Linked DNA regions of Homo sapiens: region 1 is linked to region 2. The links are contacts of gene promoters, found by promoter capture Hi-C in human tissues and cell types (Jung and others, 2019). All regions are on one chromosome and are shown on one strand. Each heading gives the region's core, a stretch centred on a gene start or on the middle of the fragment in contact. The rest is flanking DNA. Distances are from core to core; before and after follow the strand shown. Region 1 overlaps OPA3 (outer mitochondrial membrane lipid metabolism regulator OPA3). Region 2 holds the start of CLASRP (CLK4 associating serine/arginine rich protein).

Evidence for each region. The method cuts DNA at HindIII sites, captures the fragments that hold promoters and counts their contacts. A contact is called where the count stands out against the background at its distance.
Region 1: a fragment that was not itself captured here is called in contact with the fragment with the promoter of CLASRP in region 2 in 1 of the 25 tissues and cell types used here (spleen).

Annotation. Positions count from the first base shown.
Region 1 is chr19:45,569,431-45,574,493 of GRCh38, forward strand. The region is part of intron 1 of OPA3 (outer mitochondrial membrane lipid metabolism regulator OPA3); the gene reads right to left. Among named protein-coding and RNA genes, the nearest start is that of OPA3, 13 kb to the right of the region's middle. The HindIII fragment of the contact is 4,011 bases long and covers 821-4,831 here.
Region 2 is chr19:45,035,186-45,040,831 of GRCh38, forward strand. CLASRP (CLK4 associating serine/arginine rich protein) reads left to right here and starts at 3,860. Exons shown (of 21, transcript NM_007056.3): 1 at 3,860-3,923; 2 at 4,999-5,126. The coding sequence starts at 5,028. It overlaps RELB (RELB proto-oncogene, NF-kB subunit), which reads left to right. Exons shown (of 12, transcript NM_006509.4): 12 at 2,220-3,007. The coding sequence ends at 2,605. RefSeq lists an enhancer at 3,534-4,403. The HindIII fragment of the contact is 17,106 bases long and covers 1-5,646 here.

The DNA of each region.
Region 1 (5,063 bases), core at 1,576-4,075, 530 kb after region 2:
CCTGGGCGACAGAGCAAGACTCTGTCTCAAAATAAACAAAAAAGATTTCAGAACAACTTCAGTGCGTCTGATTACCAGTGCTACTTTATATTATTCTCTACTGTCTTAGTAATTCCATCCTCCCCACCTCCATTAGAGTTTAGAAGCCGATACTCACCACTGCAACCTCCCATACACCAAGGGGTGGGAGGTGACCCGGTTGTGGTAAGCTGGCAGTGAGGGGAGTTTCCTGGGGGCTTCTGGAAAAGGATTTTCCTCCTTGAAGCGTTACCCTCACTTACCTGACCACCCGCCCCTCCATACACACACGCATAGACTTCCTCCCTTATGAAACATAAAGGCACAATGCCTGGAGCCGCAGCAGCCCTACTGAGGCCATGAGGACTGCCTGAGCACCAACACAGCAGAGATGGAGTCCTCAGGTTCCCAATGACACCACTGAGCCACCAAACCAACCAAGAACAGGCCTTCCTCAGGGCTTACTGAAAAGCCAGCAAAAAACACCCTTTTGATTTAAGGTTTGATTGACATTTACTGGCTGGGTTTTCAATTAATTACAGATGAGCACAAACTAATACAGAGATACACCGGGGTCAATGACCGAGATGGCCTCTGGTGCTTTCTCAGGCAGGCGCCATCCCCAGGCTGACACGGGCGCCCTCTCCTGTCCACTTGGCATATTGCTTGCAGCCAGCGCAAGTAGATTCCCTGGGATGCACTCAGGTTGCAAATCAGCCAGCCCTCTACACAGGGGCTTCTGAAAAAGATCCCTGTTCAGAAATCGGCCAGAAGATTTAGCCATGAGTACATGAGCAAATTCCAGCAAATGCCTCTGCATAATGAAGGGTGGGACTAAAAAAGGAGCAGCGAGATTAAACGCAGCCAATGACACACTTCTTCCATCTGAGACTATGTGCCTTAGTTAGGTCTTTGCCAGCTGTGACAGCCACATACAAAGAATGTCAAAGCTGGCTGGGAGCGGTGGCTCATGCCTGTAATCCCAGCACTTTGGGAGACTGAGGTGGGCAGATCACCTGAGGTCAGGAGTTCGAGACCAGCCTGGCCAATATGGTGAAACCCTATCTCCAATAATAATACAAAAAAAAATTAGCTGGGCATAATGGCACACCCCTGTAATCCCAGCTACTTGGGAGGCTGAGGCAGGAGAATTGCTTGAACCTGGGAGGTGGAGGCTGCAGCGAGCTGAGATTGAACCACTGCACTACAGCCTGGGCGACAGAGTGAGACTCCATCTTGGGGAAAAAAACAAAAACAAAACAAAATTAGCCGGGTGTGGTGGCAGAAGCCTGTAATCCCAGCTGCTCGGGAGGCTGAGGCAGGATAATCACTTGAACCTGGGAGGTGGAGGTTGTAGCGAGCCGAGATTGTGCCACTACTCTCCAGCCTGGGCGACAGAGTGAGACTCTGTCTCAAAAAAAAAAAAAAAAATTCAAAGCCAGACTCTCACAGAGGGTTTCACCAAGAGTTTCCAAATTTACTTAATAATGTCTGCATAGGAAAATGTTTTCGGTGACAGCAAAACTATTTGGGGGGGGGGGGCATGAATAAATAAGTTTATTTTAAAAATTTTTATGTTCGTTTCATCCCTCTAATTTTTGTGTATGTTTTTAAATGCATATAATATAACCATACTATTATATGTTAGCGCTATACATGACTGCTAAATACTTTCATTTATTTATTTATTTACTTATTTTATTTTATTTTTTTGAGACAGGGTCTTGCTCTGTCGCCCAGGCTGGAGTGCAATGGTGCGATCTTGGCACACCGCAACCTCCACCTCCCGGGTTCAAGCGATACTCTTGCCTCAGTCTCCCAAGTAGCTGAGATTACAGGCATGCGCCACCATGCCCAGCTAATTTTTTGTATTTTTTTAGTAGAGACGGGGTTTCTCCATGTTGTTCAGGTTGGTCTTGAACTCCCCGCCTCAGGGGATCCACCCGCCTTGGACTCGCAAAGTGCTGGGATTACAGGCATGAGCCACCGTGCCTGGCTGACTGCTAAATAATTTTACATATGTGTACACACGTGCATACATATATGCTAGGGAAGGAACCTCAGAAGTGTTTCCTTGATAGGAGAACATAATAATAAATGTTTGGAGGTCACCAGCAGCAGCCTGGCTGCCATATAATATAACTGATGTGACGCTCTGGTGATTATAAATAAACTCCAGCAAAGTGATTTTCAAACACTGGTGCGTGTGAGAATGTACTCTAGAGACTGCTAAAAATAAACACGTCCACCCCTTCCCTACGTCCACCAAATCAGGACCTGCAGGTAGCACTCCTGGGCATCTACTGGAAGTGCCCCAGAAAGCTCACTAGTTTTCCTCCATATTGTGCACCTTTCAGCTCCCCAATCCTCTTGGCAGTTGTGTTTAACCTGGTGGTTAGTTAGCCCTTCTATTGAGAGCTGAACACCAACTGTTGTAGCTGTCCTTTCTAGAAGTTTTGTTTAATTCTTTTTCCAGCTTCCTGGCAATTTTTCATTTTACTTGTGTTTTAATATCCTTCTCTTTTATCCTCTTAACAGATAAGCTTAGGTATTTTATATCCACATCTGATAATTCCACGTTTGCAGGCTGTGACCTGCCATGTTTTTCTGCTGGCTCTCGCTCATGGTGGCTGCTTTTTTCATGTGGTGTATATATATATATCAATATATATTGATATATATATATATTTTGTATTTTTAGTAGAGACGGGGTTTCTCCATGTTGGTCAGGTTGGTCTGATATATATATGAGATATATATATATCTCTCATATATATCGATATATATGATTATATATCTCATATAAATAAAAAATAAAAATATATATAGTATATATATCGATATATATCTCATATATATCGACATATATGAGATATATATCGATATATATCTCATATATATCGACATATATGAGATATATATCGATATATATCTCATATATATCAACATATGAGATTATCGATATATATCGATATATATCATGATATATGTATATCAATATATGATATATATCATATATCATATAATAATCATATATATCGAGATATATGAGATATATATCATATATGAGATATGAGATATATATATCATATGATATATATATCATATATGGATATATATCATGATATATGTATATAAATATATATATTGATATATATCATATATATCATGATATATGTATATAAATATATATATCGATATATATCATATATATCTATATGAGATATATATCTATATATATCATACTATATATATGATATATCTCAATATATACCTATATATCATACTATATATATAGATATATATCTCGATATATATCTATATATATCATACTATATATAGATATATATATCATACTATATATATAGATATATATCTCGATATATATCTATCTATATATATTTTTTTTTTACTGTGAGCTTGTATGTGCTGGAACTCTATCTGAAGGATTTCTCCAAGGCCTGGGCAGAGAGAGCACAGGCAGGAAGAGTTTATGTTTGCCCTTGCCAGGTGCTTAGATACAATTAGGTACCCCTAGGGGTTCATTCTCAGCCTGCAACTTCCAGGACCTTTCAAAGAGGCCCCAAGCCCACATGAGGGACAGTCAGTGGCTACAAATTCTCAGAGGAGAATGTATCAGTCTCTACCTAGGGCAAAGCTTGTGTGCCTTCAGACGGAGGTTTTTTTCTAGTTCACCAGGTACCTTGCCAGAGACCTGGTTCTACACAAGGCTGTTGCCTGCCCAATTCCCCCACAGCATAGTCCCCATCCCCCAGGCCAAGTGATACGGTGTGGCTGTGTCCCCACCCAAATCTCATCTTATATTCACACGTCTCACTAAAAATACAAAAAATTAGCTGGGCATGGTGGCACATGCCTGTAATCTCAGCTACTCGGGAGGCTGAGACAGGAGAATCACTTGAACCCAGGAGGTGGAGGTTGCGGTGAGCTGAGATCACGCCACTGCACTCCGGCCTGGGCAACAAGAGCGAAACTCTGTCTCAAAAAATAAACAAATAAAATGAATAAATAAGTAAATAAACATGTACAGAGTACTTGAGGGCCAGGTACAGTTCTATGTTTTATGGATCTTAATATCCACATAACAACCCAATTACAAGCATAAAACTGAGGCCCAGAGAGGTTAAATAACTCTCCCTGGGGTCACACAGAAAGTGGCAGAGCGGGGACAGATAAGCAGGCAGCCTGGTTCGAGGCCGCGCTGCAAACAGTAAACAGTAAACACTGTTTACTGAATGGTGCTGAGGGAACATCAGAACTATGAGGTTAAGTGCTATTCGGTACAGAAAGGCAGAGGGACTCATGCAGGACACACACCACGTAAACAGCAGGGCAAGGATCTGAGTGCACGAAGTCTTTATCTAGAAGCAGAGGTTTTGGCACTTGGGCAGTAATGACAAGAAGGGATTCCGGCTGGGTGCGGTGGCTCACGCCTGTAATCCCAACACTTTGGGAGGCCACAGCGGGCGGATCACTTGAGGTCAGGAGTTGGAGACCAGCCTGACCAACATGGTGAAACCCCGTCTCTACTAAAAATACAAAAATTAGCTGGGCGTGGTGGCAGGCGCCTGTAATCCCAGCTACTCAGGAAGGCAAAAGCCTGGGCAACAAAGTTAGACTCCATCTCAAAAAAAACAAAGGGGGCTGGGCGCAGTGGCTCACGCCTGTAATCCCAGCACTTTGGGAGGCTGAGGCGGGCGGATCACGAGGTCAGGAGATCGAGACCATCCTGGCTAACATGGTGAAACCCCGTCTCTACTAAAAATACAAAAAATATTAGCTGGGCGTGGTGGCGGGCGCCTGTAGTCCCAGCTACTCGGGAGGCTGAGAGGCAGGAGAATGGCGTGAACCCGGGAGGCGGAGCTTGCAATGAGCCAAAATCGTGCCACTGCACTCCAGCCTGGGCGACAGAGCAAGACTCTGTCTCAAAAAAAAAAAAAAAAAAGAAAAAAAAAACGGATTCCATGTATACCCCCTGTAGCCTGTAGTAGCAACCAGATGGGCATGTCCCGGGCCAGGGCTCG
Region 2 (5,646 bases), core at 2,610-5,109:
GGGGCTTCAACAGGATAGAACGTTATTTCTTGTCTCACATACATAGTCTGTAGGGACTGAAAGTGGCTCATGCCTGTAATCTCAGCACTTTGGGAGGCTGAGGCAGGTGGACTGCTTCAGTCCAGGAGTTTGAGACCAGCCTGGCCAACGTGGTAAAACCCTGTTTCTACTAAAAATACAAAAATTAGCCGAGTGTGGTGGTGCACACCTGTAGTCCCAGCTACTTGGAGGCTGAGGCAGACAAATCACTTGAACCCAGGAGGTGAAGGTTGCAGTGAGCCAAGATTGCACCACTGCACTTTAGCCTGAGCAACAGAATGAGACCCTTCTCAAAACAACAACAACAACAACAACAAAACAGGCCTGGCACTGTGGCTTACGCCTGTAATCCCAGCACTTTGGGAGGCCAAGGCAGGTAGATCACGAGGTGAAGAGAGAGAGACCATCCTGGCCAACATGGTGAAACTCCATCTCTACTAAAAACACAAAAATTAGCTGGATGTGGTGGCACATGCCTGTAGTCCCAGCTACTTGGGAGGCTGAGGCAGGAGAATCATTTGAACCCAAAAGGTGGAGGCTGCAGTGAGCCAAGATGGTGCCACTGTGTTCCAGCCTGTCAACAGAGCAAGACTCCGTCTCAAAAACAAGAAACAAAAAACAGTCCATAGGTAGGTGTTCCAGGGATGGTCTGGTGACTGCATGATCATCGAGAGACCGAGGCTTCTGCCATTTTCAGTTCGCCAACTCATGGTGCAAGGTGGCTGTTGTAGCTCCAGCCATTACGCCCACGTTCCAGTTAGCAGACCTTAGTCACATGATCACATCAGGCTGCAAGGAAGGCTAGAAAATAGTCCCTTGTGTCTCTAAGGTTTGTCTTGTTCCAAAAAGAGAGTCCCTCTTTTTTTTTGAGATAGTCTTGCCCTGTTGCCTAGGCTGGAGTGCAGTGGCACAATCTCAGCTCACTGCAATGTCCACCTCCCAGGTTCAAGTGATTCTCCTGCCTCAGCCTCCTGAGTAGCTGGGATTACAGGTGCCCACCACCATGCCCTGCTAATTTTTGTATTTTTGGGAGAGAAGGGGTTTCGCCATGTTGGCCGGGCTGGTCTTGAACTTCTGACCTCAGGTAATCTGCCCGCCTCGGCCTGCCAAAGTGCTGGGATTACAGGCGTGAGCCACCATGCCTGGCCTGAGAATCCCTCTTATAATGAAACTTTTTGATTTGATTGTTATTTTTTCTTAAGTCCCCATTATGCCTGAGAATGACATTTATTTTTTCTGACAATTTTGGGACTGGTGACTTCCCAACTTGTGTCTCCCATGGTCTGGAGATTTCACTTTTTGGGTTGTCTCTGTATGTTGGGGGGCTTTGGAACCTCTTCTCCTTTCTCACTCTCAGGGAAAACTCTCCACAGCTGTGTAGGAGCATGGTTTCAACCCCAGTTCCACAACAGCTGTGTGAGCCTTCCATTTACTTTCCCTCAGTGCCTTAGTTTACTTATTATTAATTATTTTTAGAGATAAGGTCTTGCTCTGTTGCCCAGGCTGGAGTGCAGTGGTGTGATCATACTTCGCTGCAGCCTCAAACTGGGCTCAAGCAATCCTCCTGCCTCAGACTGCCAGGTAGCTGGGACTACAGGCGGGCACCACCACACCCAGCTAACTTTTAAATAATTTTTTTGTAGAGACAGGGTCTCGTCACGTTGTGCTGGGATTACAGGTGTGAACCACCACGCTTGGCCTTCAATTTACTTATTATCTGAGAATGGTGATAGTCCCACACGGATTCTCCTTGGGATTAAGAGGGCACCTAAGGCCAGGCTTGGTGGCTCACACCTGTAATCCCAGCACTTTGGGAGGCCGAAGCAGGTGGATCACCTGAGGTCAGGAGTTCGAGACCAGCCTGGCAAACATGGTGAAACCCCGTCTCTACTAAAAAGATAAGAATTAGCTGGGCATGGCACATGCCTGGCCTGTAGTTCCAGCTACTCAGGAGACTGAGGCAGGGGAATCAACTTGAACTGGGGAGGCAGAGGTTGCAGTGAGCCAAGAGCACGTCATTGCACTCCAGCCAGGGTGACAGAATGAGACTCCATCTCAGAAAAAAAAAAAAAAAGGCCACCTTGATATCACATTTTGCAGGGAGTAGGGCATTTGATTTAGGGCCTGATCAGAAGTTAGCCCTAAATCACACTACACTTCTCTTGTCTTCATCCCCGTAGGCCCGTTCCTCCCGCCGTCAGCCCTGCTGCCAGACCCTGACTTCTTCTCTGGCACCGTGTCCCTGCCCGGCCTGGAGCCCCCTGGCGGGCCTGACCTCCTGGACGATGGCTTTGCCTACGACCCTACGGCCCCCACACTCTTCACCATGCTGGACCTGCTGCCCCCGGCACCGCCACACGCTAGCGCTGTTGTGTGCAGCGGAGGTGCCGGGGCCGTGGTTGGGGAGACCCCCGGCCCTGAACCACTGACACTGGACTCGTACCAGGCCCCGGGCCCCGGGGATGGAGGCACCGCCAGCCTTGTGGGCAGCAACATGTTCCCCAATCATTACCGCGAGGCGGCCTTTGGGGGCGGCCTCCTATCCCCGGGGCCTGAAGCCACGTAGCCCCGCGATGCCAGAGGAGGGGCACTGGGTGGGGAGGGAGGTGGAGGAGCCGTGCAATCCCAACCAGGATGTCTAGCACCCCCATCCCCTTGGCCCTTCCTCATGCTTCTGAAGTGGACATATTCAGCCTTGGCGAGAAGCTCCGTTGCACGGGTTTCCCCTTGAGCCCATTTTACAGATGAGGAAACTGAGTCCGGAGAGGAAAAGGGACATGGCTCCCGTGCACTAGCTTGTTACAGCTGCCTCTGTCCCCACATGTGGGGGCACCTTCTCCAGTAGGATTCGGAAAAGATTGTACATATGGGAGGAGGGGGCAGATTCCTGGCCCTCCCTCCCCAGACTTGAAGGTGGGGGGTAGGTTGGTTGTTCAGAGTCTTCCCAATAAAGATGAGTTTTTGAGCCTCCGGGGTTTCGTCTGTTCTGGGCTTGGGAAACGCCCTAGTCCCTTAGTAGCAAAGAAAGCCTCCAGGCTGGGGGCTCAGGCCTGTCATCCCAGCACTTTGGGAGGCCAAAGCAGGAGGATCGCTTGAGCTCACGAGTTTGAGACCAGCCTGGGCAACATGACGAAACCTAGTCTCTACAAAAAATACAAAAATTAGCCGGGCGTGGTGCTGCGCGCCTGTAATCCCAGCTACTCTAGAGGCTGAGGTGGGAGGATCGCTTGAGCCCAGGAGGTGGACGTTGCAGTGAGCCAAGACCGCACCACTGCACTCCAGCTTGGGCGACAGCGCGAGGCTGTGTCTCAAAAAAATAAAAAATGAAAATGAAAATAAAAAATGAGACCGGGCATGGTGGCTCATGGCTGTAATCCCAGCACTTTGGGAGGCCGAGGCAGGTGGATCACCTGAGGTCAGGAGTTTGAGACCAGCCTAACCAAAATGGTGAAACCCCATCTCTACTAAAAATACAAAAATTAGCCGGGCTTGGTGGCGCGCGCTTGTAGTCCCAGCTACTCGGGAGGCTGAGGTGGGAGAATAGCTGAAACCCAGGAGGCAAAGGTTGCAGTGAGCCTAGATCGCGCCACTGCCTTCTAGCCTGGGAGACAAAGAGAGACTCCGTCTCAAAAAAATAAAATTAAATAAATAAATAAAATAAAAAAGATAAAAAGATAAAGCATCCAAGCTCTTCCCTTCTCCGCTCTCCCACTTCTTCCTCGGGATCCCGCCCCTCTCGACTCTAGGACCCGCCTCTCTCGTCGGCGGAAGTGCGCTGCGCGGCCCTCCACCATGCTCCGCCCCCTCCCCCTAGCGCGGCCTTTCATTTCCGCTTCCGGTGCGGGCCGCGCGCGAGCGCAGCGGTGGGAGGCGGCGACCAGCCGGTGAGTGCAGGCTGCGGCTCGACCTCCCGGTTTTCGGGCAGGCCTCAGCCCAGCTTCTCCCTTTCCTCAGGCTCTCCCCATGCTGCTGTGGGCTTCTGCTGCGTCCCGGCCCCGAGGATCGCTCGTCCCTCACCCCATTAGGCCTGACGGGCCTCAGGCCGAGCCCGTGCCCCGGCTGTGGGCCAGAAGTTGCCGCGTCGAACTCGGCCTTCGGCCCAGCAGCTTATCACAGGCCCCGCCCCCTTGTCAAAAAAAAAAACAACAAAAAAAAAACCCAGCCCAAATCCTCAGGCCGCGACGCGATCCACAAGCCCCGTCCAAACCTTCGGTCTCCGCCCTTTCCCGCAAGCCCTGCCCCCAAGCTCAGCCCACGCCCTCCTGTCAGCCAGCTCCGCCTCTCTCAGGCTCTACGCTCTTTTTCTTTGGATGCTCTCCCCACCCCGCCATCTAGATCCCATCTTTAGACCTCAGCTTCACTCTGGTCTCCTTGCAACACTCCCTCCCCGTGTTCCCACTCCCTCTAGCATCTTCATCTTCCGCCACGCCCTTCACCTGTCCTCGACCTCCACCTTCATACAACTGCACTGTTCCCTTAAAAGCTTTCTCCGATTTCCTCCACCTGCCTTCATCCTTATTCTCCTTATCCCTCTACCACCCAGACTCATACCCAACCCCACGCATGGCCCCTAGTGGGAGCCTTTTCAGTTCTTCTCTTTCTCTTGAGCTCCAGCCTTAAGTGCTCAGGGTTTGCCTTCTGACCCTACTTCAAACACTGCTGATGTTTCAAAACCTTTCATTCCCGACTCCAGCGCGTGGAATCTAGGACACCCCTTTCCCAGTGATGCTCACCTCAGAATCACCTGAGGGTTTTTCAGAATGCCCAAGCTTCTAGATCGAAGTTGTTAGGGATGGACTTGAACATCTGGCATACTGTTCTGCAGCTTCACTTCTGCTCCCTGAAGCTAAGAGATGTGTTGTTTGGGATCGACTCTGCCACCAACTTGTTAGATGACTTTGATTCTGCCCATACGGGTTTCACAGACCATCTGACTTTCCTGGTCCCTTCATCCCTCAGGTTGAGGCCCCAGGCTTGGCCTCACCACAATGTGGCACGAGGCTCGGAAGCATGAGCGGAAGCTTCGAGGCATGATGGTCGACTACAAGAAGAGGGCGGAGCGGAGACGGGAGTATTATGAAAAGATCGTGAGTAACTGGCCTTTTGTCTGGGGTGAGGGACCCTGGGTTGGGGGGCACAGCTGGTCATCCTGGTAAAATCTGGGCTTGGAAGTATGTCAAGACAAGAGGCTCATTTCCTCAGGAGTATATTCATTAATCTTTTCTTGAGGATAATCATTGGTGGGATCCCAAGGGCTTCTGTTTGTTGTAGCATACTGTGTCGTTTGGTGTGGCCTCCCAGTGCCGATCCGGTGTTAGCAAGAAAAAGGGAAGTCTCTGTAACCCTCAGAGCAGTCCTGACGTTAGACTGGCCACCTCCAGAATGTCTGTTTCGCTTATTGCTGTGTTCCCCATTCCCAGAAGAGCTCAGCCACTCTTGAGATTTGGCTTGGCACACAATAGGAGTGAGTATTAAGTTGGCCTGGCACAGTGGCTCACGCCTGTAATCCCAAGTGGATCACCTGAGGTCACGAGTTCGAGACCAGCCTGGCCAAAAGGGTGAAACCCCATCTCTACTAAAGATACAAAAATTAGCCAGGCTTAGTGG